Regions from separate parts of the Homo sapiens genome. Here regions 1 and 2 are each linked to region 3. The links are contacts of gene promoters, found by promoter capture Hi-C in blood cells and fetal thymus (Javierre and others, 2016). All regions are on one chromosome and are shown on one strand. The core of a region is centred on a gene start or on the middle of the fragment in contact, and the rest is flanking DNA. Distances in the headings are between cores, read along the strand shown. Region 1 overlaps IUR1 (imatinib upregulated ABL suppressing lncRNA 1). Region 2 has its middle 9.4 kb from the start of IUR1. Region 3 holds the start of ARAP1-AS2 (ARAP1 antisense RNA 2).

Region 1 (3,975 bases), core at 888-3,387, 460 kb after region 3:
GCCTAACTCCTATAGATTACCTAGAATTCAGATTAGGAGTTCCCTCTGTCAGGAAGCTCTCCCAGATCCCCCATTCCAGGCAGGCTCAGGACCTTTATCCAACCTGCCATCTGTACTATCCTCTGTCCCTGCACTGATCCATCTTAACTGTTTTCTGTTGATCTCTCCCTCCTGGCTCCCAGCTGCCTTTGTTAATTCAGACATTGTGGACATGACATCTTTCTCGCTTTGCTGGGAAATGATTTGAAGCTCTGTCCCTTGGCCAAGAAATTCTAGACCTGGAAAAGCACCTGGAGTAGTAGGAAGTTTTCTCCTGACCTCAGGGCTCAGACATGCCTGCCCTCCAAGTCGATGCTCAGCAGCACCGGGGGCAGGCTTTTCCTGCAAAGGACAGTTTGCTGAACAGATAAACTAATCTGGGCACCCTACATCCAGGCCTATCAGTTTGTCCTATCTTGTCGTTCTCTACCCTACGGAGTCTTGTGGGGACACAGGCCAGAGGAGTGATGTCACATGGGAGGACAGGGCAGGATGGGAGGGAGGAATGGGACTAAGGAAATGCTTGGGGAGTAGGTGGGGTGTCCCCATCACATCTAGGTGGAGGTGGCTATGTCTTCATCTGGGTGTGAGACCATCCTAGCTCTCAGTATCCTGGTCCCCACCCTAGCCCAGTTGAGGAGCCTTCAGAGGCCAGAGGTCATATGTCATCACCTCCCAGAGAAACCCTGCCTAGCCCCAAAGTTGTCTGTTCCCAGCATACCAGCCCAGGAGAGAGAGAGCATGGGGCAGTGAGTCACCAAAGTATATGACTTTGGGCATATCACACTCCCGTCTGTACGATGAAGAGGTGGACTCTGTAAACACTAAGGGCTCGTCTGGTCAGGACAGTCTGTAGGCAGATGAAGTGGAAGAGACTGCTCCTGTGTGCAGGTGCTGGCTGGGTGCTCCCGTGTCTCTCGTCCCATCTAACTGCTCGGCCAAGGAGGGAGAAAGCTCCATGGAAAGCTTTGCCTCTGCTTGAGGCAGAGAAAGGTGGCATGGGCATTGTGTGTATGTGATAAAAATATACGCGGAATATAAAAATTACAATTTTAACTATTTTAGATGTACAATGATGTACAATGCAGTGTCATTAAGTACATACACAATGTTGTGCTCCACTATCCATTTCCAAAGCTTTTTTTTTTGAGACGGAGTCTTGCTCAGTTGCACAGGCTGGAGTGCAATGGCATGATGGCTCACTGCAACCTCCGCCTCCCAGGTTCAAGCAATTCTTCTGCCTCAGCCTCCTGAGTAGCTGGAATTACAGGCACCCGCCATCATGCCCCTCTAATTTTTTTGTATTTTTGTAGAGATGGGTTTCACCATGTTGGTCAAGCTGGTCTTGAACTCCTGACTTCAGGTGATCTGCCCTCCTCAGCCTCCCAAAGTGGTGGGATTACAGGTGTAAGCCACTGCGCCCAGCCCATTTCCAAAGCTTTTCATCATCCCAAACAGAAACTCTGTAATTATTAAACATTAACTCCCCATTCCCCTTCCTCCTACCCCTGATAATCCTCTTATTCTGCTTTTGGTCTATGAATTTGCCTTTTCTAGGTACCTCATATAAGTGGGATCATACAATACTTGTTTTTTGTGTGTATCTGGCTTCTTTCATAATGTTTTCAGGATTCATCCATGTTGTACATGTGTCAGTACTGCATTCCTTTTTAAAAGTTGAATAATATTTCACCTTATGGGTATACATTTTGTTTAGCCATTCATCTGTTGATGGACAATTGGGTTATTTCCACTTTTTGGCTATTGAGAATAATCCTGCTGTGAACATTGGTATATAAGTATCTGCTTAAGTCTCTGCTTTCCATTTTGGGGGATATAGACCTAGAAGGGAAATTGCTGGATCAACTTGGTAGCTCAATGTTTCACTTCTAAAGGAACCAACAAACTGTTTTCCACAGTGGTTACACCATTTTACATTTCTATGAGCAGTGCACTAGGGTTCCAATTTTCCTACATCCTTGCAAACACTTGTAATTTTCCTTTTAACAAAAAGTTATATCCATCATAATGGGTGTGAAGTGGTATCTCATTGTGGTTGGCCTGGAGATTTTTTTTCAAAAAACATATTTGACCAGGTGCAGTGGTTCGTGCCTGTAATCCCAATGCTTTGGGAGTCCAAGGCAGAGGATTGCTTTAGCTCAGGAGTTCGAGACCAGCCTAAGCAGACTCCTGTCTATACAACAACAACAACAAAATAATTTAAGAAAAAATTAGCCAGGCACAGTGGTGCACATTTGTAGTTCCAGCTTCTTGGGAGGCTGAGGATCACTTGAGCCCAGAAGTTCAAAGCTGTAGTAAGCTATGATTACACCACTACACTCCAGCCTGGATGACAGAGCAAGACCCTGTCTCTAAATAAAAAACAAAGCAAAACAAAACAAAACAAAAACCGTATTTTAGCTGCAGGGTTCTTTAATCAGAGGAAAAGTTACCCAAAGACTGCATGAAGGCTTTGGTGAGGAGTTGATAGTGGTTAACTGGAGGCAAGAAGGGCAGGTAAGGTCGCATGGGGCTGATAACTATGCACGTGCGTGTGCGTGCATGCGTGTATGTGTATTGAGGGGGTGCTCGTGTGTAGAGGGCACTTTCTCTTGGTCTCCCTCTCCCTGACTTGCCCCACACAGAGGTCTTTTCTGAGGAACCCAGTGGCATAGTATAAAAGTCCCTGACTAATGGTCACTGAAGTCACTTCCTTTCTGGGATACTTACCGGGAGGAGGCCATGTGTAACAGGGGCAGGAAGCTTCTCTATTTCGTCGTTAGGGGAGGACTTAGCAAGTCACCTTGGAGGAGGCCCTCTCTGTTCTGTCCACCACTTGAGTTTATCAGATGTAAGTAGCACCTGGGAGACAAAACAGGACCTTTTGTGGCCCAACAAAGGCTGCCTCTCCTAACATCAAATGGGATGCAGAGCTGAAGAAAAAGGCAACATATTTGGGAGGAGTGAGACGTTGACAAAGGAGCCCCAGGGCACAAATGGAAGAAGGTCCAGTCACTTTCCTTGTGAGGTTCAAAGTTATCTGGCTGCTAAGATGACCATCCCCAGTGAGCCCCACTTGTTGGAAGGAAAGAACCCCTGAGCCCCCAGTGGTGTAGGAAGGAGCCTTGGACTGGTGGCCAGGCTTAACTCTGGGGCTGAGGACCTAGAAGCCCCTCTGGACCTTCCTCCTGGTGAAACTTGCTGGAGCTCAGGAGTGTGAATGAAAGCTTGGATTTGGGGGTCATGTGTTCACAGCTGCTGGGACTCTGAACAGTAAGATGGAGCAAGACTGGGACTCAAGAGTGCCTTTGTTGGAAAGGAGCTAGTGTAGTCCCTGTGGGTTTTGAGCACTCCTGTGACATGGGGGAAGGCCTCCAGAGGGCCAGATTGAACTTCCTGCTGATAAAATCTTGTGGAGCTCAAGCAATTAATGGGGAAAAAATTTGGCCATAGTTTTTACCTTAAGCTGGTGGAGGGACCACACAAGTTACATGCAGTTCTCAAGTTATTTGGTTCTCTAGTTCCAGAGGTGGGGCAGGATGAGGGGGACCAGGAAAGTATATTATTCCTTTTTGCACCCAAGCCAGCTCAAGACAACCCTGGGGAATGGGAGGGAAAGTCTCTGGGCCTCTTTCCTTACTTAGGTTTCCTTCGTGGGTCCCCTTCAAGAGCCGCTCCTCATCTTCAGGATTCCACCATGGCCCCTTGCCTATGTCTACAGCCCATGATAGTACTCAAGTACTCAGGCTATTTCCTGTTCACTGTCCCTACAAAGCTTATCCAGCCTGGGTCCAGGTTCCTCTGTTCCCCATTAGGAGCACTGAGCTCAGCTAATAGACCAAATTGACCGAAGGAGCTGGTGACAACAGTTGGTTAATCCAGCCACTAAGGGCTTCACATGCATCCCTTCCCTGACTCCATTCACATTTCACCAAG
Region 2 (3,782 bases), core at 512-3,011, 490 kb after region 3:
GGAGTGACAAGGCTGGGTGTGTGGCCAGCAGGGTCCCTCTCTGGTTGCTGCATGAAGCATGGACTGAAGGCAGACAGCAGTGTCAAAGGGCCCTCTGCTTTTGAGGTTCAGGAGGAAAAGATGAAGGATGAAGTTGGGCAGTTCAGCGGAAGGTGAGAGGTGGACAGTCCCCAGGATAGCACAGAGGGGTGGCCAGGATTTAGTTAAGGATGGGAGGAGGGCAGGCAGAAAATGAGAGGAGGCTTGGTGGCTTCTGGGTTCCTGGCCCAGGTGACCGGCTGGTTGGTGATGCTCTTGCTGAGGTTGTGACAGGAAGAGCAGGTCTGGGGAAAGATAAAGAGTTCATCAGCTTTGGACATGTCAGGGGAGCAGGCGTCCCAAAGGAGGATTGATTAGAGGGCTGGAGCCAGGTAAATGTGGACAGATTTTCCCTGAATGACATTTTACTGGATGACTTTAAAGTATCCCAAGTATCCTGGGGACAGTCTTTGGCACCAACTGCCTATGGTCCCCAAGACAGATAGGACCAGGACTTGGGTCCCAGAGAAGGGTCAGCAAAGGGTCTGACTAGGGTGAAGGGGAGGGTCTAAGATCCTTGGCTCAGGAGTACCCCCAGGGTAATGCAGGAGTGGCTGGCACAGAGGTTTAGAGGTAGATAAGGGGTAGGAAAAAGCCATGGGTGGGCTGAGCTGGCAAGCCTCAGAGACCAGTCAGCCCAGAACCATCATTGTACAGACAGACAGAGCCAGGCCCGGCAAGGCCTAGGGATCTGGCAGGTCACAAGTCAAGGCAGACAGGTCATCAGCTTCTGGCTCAGTGCTGTACCCTCAGCCCGACTGGCTGGGAGGGGTCAGCTCCGTGTGGGCCTGGGATTGAGCTCCTGGGCCACGTCTAGGTGCTGTGGGCTTGTGTGGTTCGGGTGGAAGCACTGGGGCAGGCAGATGAGAGCCCCACCCTGAGCAGCACCCTAAACCCACTGTCTGTCAGTCTGCCCCAACCCTGTGCTTTTACTTTCTCAGTCCCAGGACCCAGGCTGGGCTGTAATCAGAGGAGGGAACTGGAACCTGGACCGGGGGAACACAAAGCTCTGCACACAGCCAGTCTCCTGGCAGATGCTGAGATGCTCATGGGTGGGTGGGGGACTGTGGCATCAGGGGCCATGTTCCACACAAGGTGAAATGCAGTAAGGGCAATTTCCACAAAGCTTGTTGAGCCAGGTACTGTTTTATGATCTTGAAACAGTGAACAGGATTTATGTTCTAACTAGACATTGACAATAAGCAAACTAATACATAACATAACAATGGAAAGATGAGAGGAAGAAACAGAGCCCAGAGGGATGGGCACCTTCAGTGGGGAGCGGGGAATGGCCACTTGACAGAAGACCCCTGCAGGCCTGATGGGCTGAGTGATTTTAATTAAATCTATGTCCCTACCCCCGACCCATGTACCCCCACCCCGCCTGCCACCAGGCACTCCACCTTCTCCTCAGCTCTAGCTGCACCACTGGGAGTTCCTATTTTTTTTTTTTTTTTTTTTTTTTTTGAGACAGAGTCTCACTCTGTCACCCAGGCTAAAGTGCAGTGGTGCGAACTTGGCTCACTGCAACCTCCACCTCCCGAGTTCAAGCAATTCTCCTGCCTCAGCCTCCCAAGTAGCTGGGATTACAGGCTCCCGTCACCACACCCAGATAACTTTTGTATTTTTAGTAGAGACGGGGTTTCACCATGTTGGCCAGGCTCGTCTTGAACTCCTGACCCCAAGTGATCTGCCCGCTTCTGCCTCCCAAGGTGCTGGGATTACAGGTGTGAGCCACTGCACCCAGCCGCACCATTGGGAGTTTCTGAGGGCTGCCCTTGACTGGACCATTACCAGGGCCTGAGGAGGACTGTGGGGAAATGAGCCTCTCACAAGGTCTAGTCCCTCCCACAAAGTCCTGCCCAAGAGCCACCCCAACCTGCCCACTTGGCTCCTCCAACCTGGGAGCCAGGTAAGAGCTGAGGAGCCCCAGGGCCTTGGCACTGAGTCAGATGTAGCCTGGGAGGTGGAGGTGACTCACTTGGGGGTGTCAAGATCCAGGAAACCACAGCCCAGGGTCAGGGCAGAAACCTGGAGACTCCCTGCCTTGCCTTGCCCCAGAATGATGAATAGGAGGGCCCTGGCCTTTCCTAAGAAGCCCCCAGCCAAGGGTCCTCCTGCTGTCATGAAGGCCCAAGTTCCAGTCAAGTTGTTGAGAGGTGCCCAAGGACCTGCCAGTGCCTGCTTCCTCTGGGCCTCGGCCTCCTAGTCCACTTATAGTGGGGAGCAATGGGGCTAGATAAGCTTCAGTGTTCCTAGCAGCTCTGAATTTCTGTTTCGTTGAGTATGTTGCAGGAGGCCCACAACCTCTGATGGTTCCTGGGGGCTCAGGGCAGGGGTGAATGACAGATGCTGAAAAGCGGGGGTCAAGGGAGGGTTTGCAAGGTTTAGCAAATGTCAATACAGGATATGTTGTTAAATTTGAATTTCAGATTAGCAATGAATAACTTTTTAGTATAAGCACATGTCCCAAATATCCGTTATGTTAAAGAATTTTTCACTGTTTATCAGAAATTCAAATTTGACTGGGCGTCTTGTACTTTCTCCGGCCATGCTAGGTGGGAAAGGTAATTGGAGCTGGGACTTCATCAGAGGAAGGTCTTAGACTCAGACAACTGGAGCTCTCACCACCTCCCTTGCTGCCCTCAGGGTCCCTTATCCATGAACTTCTTGATTTGTTGGAAGGTAGGGGGATGAGGGAGTGAGAACCCTGGGGTTAGGGGAAACTAAGAGCTATGTAGAGAGGCAGAGAGACCCCAAGACCCCAAGAGGCAGCACCGGAACTCTTCCTGGCCTGCACTCAGCTAACCTCGCCACCTCTCTTCCCCAGAACTCCTGCAAAGCTCAACCTCATTCCTACTGCCATACCCTTGCTTGTTCCAGCCCTGCCTCTTTCCATCCTATGCAAACTTTACCCACAGCCTCTGCCAGGAGCCCTTTCTTGGCTATCCTTTAGCGTTGTGACTTCCTCCTCTGGGTTCCCAGAGTGCTGTCAGTCACCCTCCTCCTCATGGAGCTGTTCAATCAATGGAGCACCCTCTCTGGAGGAGGCTTTGGAGCAGACTCTGGGCAGTGATTAGGACAGTGGAGCCGACAGTGATCGGGACAGGCACAGCCCCTGCTCCATGGAGCACACGGTCTGGTGGGGAGGCAGACACACAATCACAAAACAGGAGAGAATGAATCGCCCTTTCACTGGGACCAACTGGTCCATGTCACTGAGGCTTTATGCAGGCAGAGGACACGTTCTGTTGTACTCGGGCCCTACCACAGAGCAGGCTTCAGTGAATATTAGTGGCATAAGTGAGAGTGCAATGATGCAACTAAAGCTGGGGATGGTGGGGACGCTGACTAAGTCTGAGAGGTCACCATGCAAACAGCCTGAACTCGGCACCTCCGGCCGTGGCCTGGACCTGGTGAGGCTTGGCATCATGGCATGCCATTGCTCATGAGAATCTGGCCCTGCAAGAGTCTGCATTTCCAGGGGTCAGGGACTGGATCTTCCTCTCCTCTCATTCCCTCTTGCCCTGGCCAATAACCTGACACAGGAGATGAATTGATAGAGAGCTGATAGATGGGAAATACTGTGTGGCTGTCCCACTGAGGCTGGAAGGACTAGTCACACCACATTGTTCTTTCTCCTCTGCATAGAATGTTGCTTGGGGCAATTTTAGTAGGTAGTCACAATCTCTTTCCAGTATTAG
Region 3 (4,013 bases), core at 137-2,636:
CCTCAAAGGTGTGCTCAAAGCTGCAAATACACAGGCCAGGACTCAGGCCCACCTCATCCAGCACGGGCCCACCCCCAACCCGCACCATCAACCGCCATCCTCTGCCCCCTCCGCACTGCCTTGGCGCTTGTCCTTATTCTGGTCCCCTAAGAGGTGGTGGAAAAGTCTTGGGCTGGGGCCTCAAGAGACTGGAGTCGGCCCTTGTGCAGCCTCCGTTTGCTGTGTGACTCTGCGGAGGTCCTCCCCTTCTCTGGGTCTATTTCCCTGTCTCCCCAGTGGGGGATTGTACCTTATAGCAACCACAGTCTGATTTGCCCAGGAGTACTCACCCATGGGTGTCAGGAGGGGGCACTGCCAGGCACACAATCTCGCTGGCCCGAATCTCTCCATTGGGGGTCACTGCCCGCTCATTCTCAAAGTAGCTCAGGACCCCGTCACCAAGGACACACCAGCGCCGGCTGAACTCTGGGGAGAATTTGGGCAGGGGAGCCATCAGGGAGCCCCCCACCACCTGAAAACCACCTCTGCATCCTCCCGGGGCTCCTGCTCCCATCTGACCCATGAGCTCTTCATTCTCTCAAGTTTTCCCTAAATCCATCCACCTCTCTGCATCCCCACCACGCTAGCCAGCCCACAAGTCATCCGCTCCCCCAGGCCTCTGCAGCAGCCCCTTCCAAAATCCCAGAGTGATCTAGCTAAAATCAGACCCCATCCTTCCTCTAACCAAAACCATTCCATGGTCCTCAGGACAGACTCTGTGCCCCTCAGCCTGCCATTCAAGGCCCTGCCAGGTCTACCCCTGCCCGTCTCTCCAGCTGCCTCTCTGTCACTCCTGGACACACACATCCCTACCCAGCACTCCCAGCTTTTGCAAACCTTGTCCCCTCTACCCACCACCTGAATGTCACAGGAAGCCTTCTATGCCCCAACCTCCTTTTCCAGAAGCATCTATCACTCTGTACTCTGCCTCCTGCTACAATGGCTCTGAAGGACTGGCAAGGTCCCATAAAAGAAACAGAAATGGGAATCTGGACCAGGAAAGGTAATGGAAAGGATAGGCTGTCATGGCCATGCAGGCTTGTACCGTTCACAGCACTGAGCTTTACAGTGGCTCAGAGCTTCCTGGCATCCAGGGCAAAAAGGATGACTCAGGCAGTTGTTACATAAATGACATTGTCAGGCAGAGGGAGGCAGACCTGGGGCAATGAGGTTGTGAACAGCATGGAGTTCCAAAGAAATCTCTTTGGGAGTTGGAGGGCTTTGTCCCCGTAGGAAAGCATGCAGGAGGTGCTGAGGGATGTTGTCAGCAATGACCTCACAATGTTCCCACAGCAGACTCTGTCTCTCATCCTGTCTGTGAGGGCCTGACATGTGCTCTTTGAGAGCAATGTGTCCTCAGGCCTGTCCCCGCAGGTGGGCTCCCTCCAGGAGCACCAGCTCTGCCTGAGTCATCCTTCATTCTGCAGGTATTTGCCAAGTGCCCACTGTGTGCTAGCCACTGTTCTAGGATCTGGGGGCTACAGGCAGTGGTGGCCAAAAGGAGTTTATGTCCCAGTGGGGTACAGAGAATCTATAGATAAGTACATTAATGGACAAATGAGTACCAGGTAAGTGGTGTGAAGAAAATGCAGGGTAGCCAGGCGTGGTGACTCACGCCTGTAATCCCAGTACTTTGGGAGGCCAAGGCGGGCAGATCACCTGAGGTCGGGAGTTTGAGACCAACCTGACCAACATGGTGAAACCCCATCTCTACTAACTAAATTAGCCAGGCATGATGGCGCATGCCTGTAATCCCAGCTACTCGGGAGGCTGAGGCAGGAGAATTGCTTGAACCCGGGAGGCAGAGGTTGCGGTGAGCCAAGATCGCGCCATTGCACTCCAGCCTGGGCAACAAGAGCGAAACTCCATCTCAAAAGGGTAAAGGGAGAGATGGGGGGTGCTATTTTGCATAAGGTAGTCAGAGATGACATCTCTGCAGGAGTGATACTGAAACAGAGACCTGACGGAAGTGAGGGACTGGCCATGCAGATACCTGGGGGAATGCATTTCAGGCAGAGGGAACAGCACAGGCAAAGATCCTGGTAGGTGACGACGTGTCTGAGAAACAGTGAGGAGACCGGCAGAGTGATTAGGGGGGTGGTTCAGAGAGGTAATGGGGGTGGTGGCCAACTGTGCGGGCTCTTGTGGATTTTCTTCTGAGTTGGGGAGTGAATGGAAGGCTGAGATCAGATGGATAGGGCTTTCGTTCAGTCCTCAAACTCCCTACCAGCCACAGGCTCTTACTACCAGATGCTCAGCAGAGCCCATATCCAGTAGGGGCTCAATAAAGGCTCATTTAGTCCAAAGAAACTCTGGCACTGACCTGCTCTGCAGTGTCATGCACTACCCCCACTCCCACCAGGATCATTTAGGAAGTACCTACTGTGTACCACAGACTATATCCAGGAAGCCCTCTAGGGTGACTCTGCCAGAGTCCACCAGTCTGGCCAGCCCTGGCTTCCCTAGCCCTGCAGCCGTGACCAGATGCCATGGGCTAAAGCAGAGTCTGGGGTGGCACCCACCTTCCCGGGCCCGGCGGTCCTGTAGCAGCTTGCCGGCAGAGGCAGTCTTGTAGAGGAAGCCACTGTGGCTCACGGTCGGCAGGACAACTGAGTAGTGCTTTTCCAGGGGCTTCATCGAGTCCAGCCGAGGCACCTCTTTGTAGGCGGGGAAAGGATGGCAGGTCATGCTGGCCACCCAAGAGGGTGTCCCCACCTCACTCCCACCTGGCCTGGGCATTCAGGCTCACTTTCGAATCATCAGCCCCAGCTCCCTAACTGGCAGCCTCAAGCTCCCCCTCCTACCTGCAGGGTCTTGTCCAGGCTGTTTCTCCACCTCTCCCCACTTGTGGAAATTCACTCCACTCCCAAGGCCCAGTTCCAGCACCTCCCCTTCCAGGAAGCCTCCCTGATTCCTGCCCCACCCCACTCTCCAGGTTGGAGGCATAGGCCAGGCACACTGGCATGAGGGGGGCATTGGGCAAACTCAATAATAATCCCTGGAAAGAGGATTGTCCCAGACAGCGGGAAGCTCAAGGTGGCAGCCTGACTACAGCCCTGTTCCCCACGGTCAGCGCCGTGGGGGGGCGGTGATCTGTCCCCAAGCCCAAGCCAGTTGGGTGGTCTCCTGTGTCTCCCTGGACACCTGGGCTCTCTCCAGCCCAGTGTGCCCCGCCCACCCATGGCCCTGAGCCCAGAGCCCCAGCCATTGAGCTCCACCCTCAGTCCTGGGATGTGGCCCCAGAGTCCAGGCCTGGGCCACGAGCTGTGCTGCTCAGCCCACTGACCCCTCCTCACCCACCCCAAGAGGGAGCCAATGGTACCCAAACCAAGTTCAGGATTGAGCTCCACCCAAGCAGGGCAGTAGACAGGGCTGCCTAGGTGGGTGACCCACCCATGGAGAAATGTAACTCAGCACCCCTCACGCAGCAACACAGACACACTCTGCACACGCATGTACTCCAAAGCTCTCAGCATCCCCAGAAACACAAATCCGGGGGGCTCAGAGGCGCACAAACACCAGCACAGCTGCCAGCCATCCTGAGGGGCCCACACTGCAAGTCAGGGAAGTCATCAACAGTCACAGAGACACAGACACAGAGGAACATGCATACGTAGTACAAATACACACTGACATGCAAACCCAAGCACACCCCAGCTCACACATGATTTATCACAGGCCCTTGAGGAGCTGCGATCACGGCCTGAGAGCAGCAGGTAAATCAAACCCCACCAGGCACTGCACAGCCTGGTGGACCCCCACCCTCTGCCACGCTCACCTGTGGTCCGGTTGTTCCGAAGGAATTCCATCTGCAGCGTCTGCCCCGCCTGCTCTGCAAGAGCCAGGGGCGTGGGGGCCTCAGGGTCCCCCGAGAAGCAGTTGATCCCAGCCCCACAGCCCAGGAGCGCCTGGGTCTCAGCCAGGTCTGTGGTGGTGACTGCAGCACACAGGGCCTAGGAAGAGGCAGGGGAGGG

What was found. Contacts are between HindIII fragments. The CHiCAGO score rates a contact against its expected background, and 5 or more counts as called.
Region 1: a fragment that was not itself captured here is called in contact with the fragment with the promoter of ARAP1-AS2 in region 3 in 1 of 17 cell types (erythroblasts); the score reaches 6.1 in erythroblasts.
Region 2: a fragment that was not itself captured here is called in contact with the fragment with the promoter of ARAP1-AS2 in region 3 in 3 of 17 cell types (activated CD4 T cells, neutrophils and fetal thymus); the score reaches 7.7 in activated CD4 T cells.

The regions. Positions count from the first base shown.
Region 1 is chr11:73,159,771-73,163,745 of GRCh38, forward strand. It overlaps IUR1 (imatinib upregulated ABL suppressing lncRNA 1), which reads right to left. Exons shown (of 4, transcript XR_950294.3): 3 at 2,770-2,901. Among named protein-coding and RNA genes, the nearest start is that of FCHSD2, 19 kb to the left of the region's middle. The HindIII fragment of the contact is 1,325 bases long and covers 1,476-2,800 here.
Region 2 is chr11:73,190,462-73,194,243 of GRCh38, forward strand. No RefSeq gene overlaps it. Among named protein-coding and RNA genes, the nearest start is that of IUR1, 9.4 kb to the left of the region's middle. The HindIII fragment of the contact is 1,118 bases long and covers 1,203-2,320 here.
Region 3 is chr11:72,699,088-72,703,100 of GRCh38, forward strand. It overlaps ARAP1-AS2 (ARAP1 antisense RNA 2), which reads left to right and starts at 1,387. Exons shown (of 2, transcript NR_146780.1): 1 at 1,387-1,466. It overlaps ARAP1 (ArfGAP with RhoGAP domain, ankyrin repeat and PH domain 1), which reads right to left. Exons shown (of 35, transcript NM_001040118.3): 15 at 3,818-3,992; 16 at 2,562-2,696; 17 at 330-465; 18 at 1-20. RefSeq lists a silencer at 1,933-2,032. The HindIII fragment of the contact is 37,247 bases long and covers 1-4,013 here.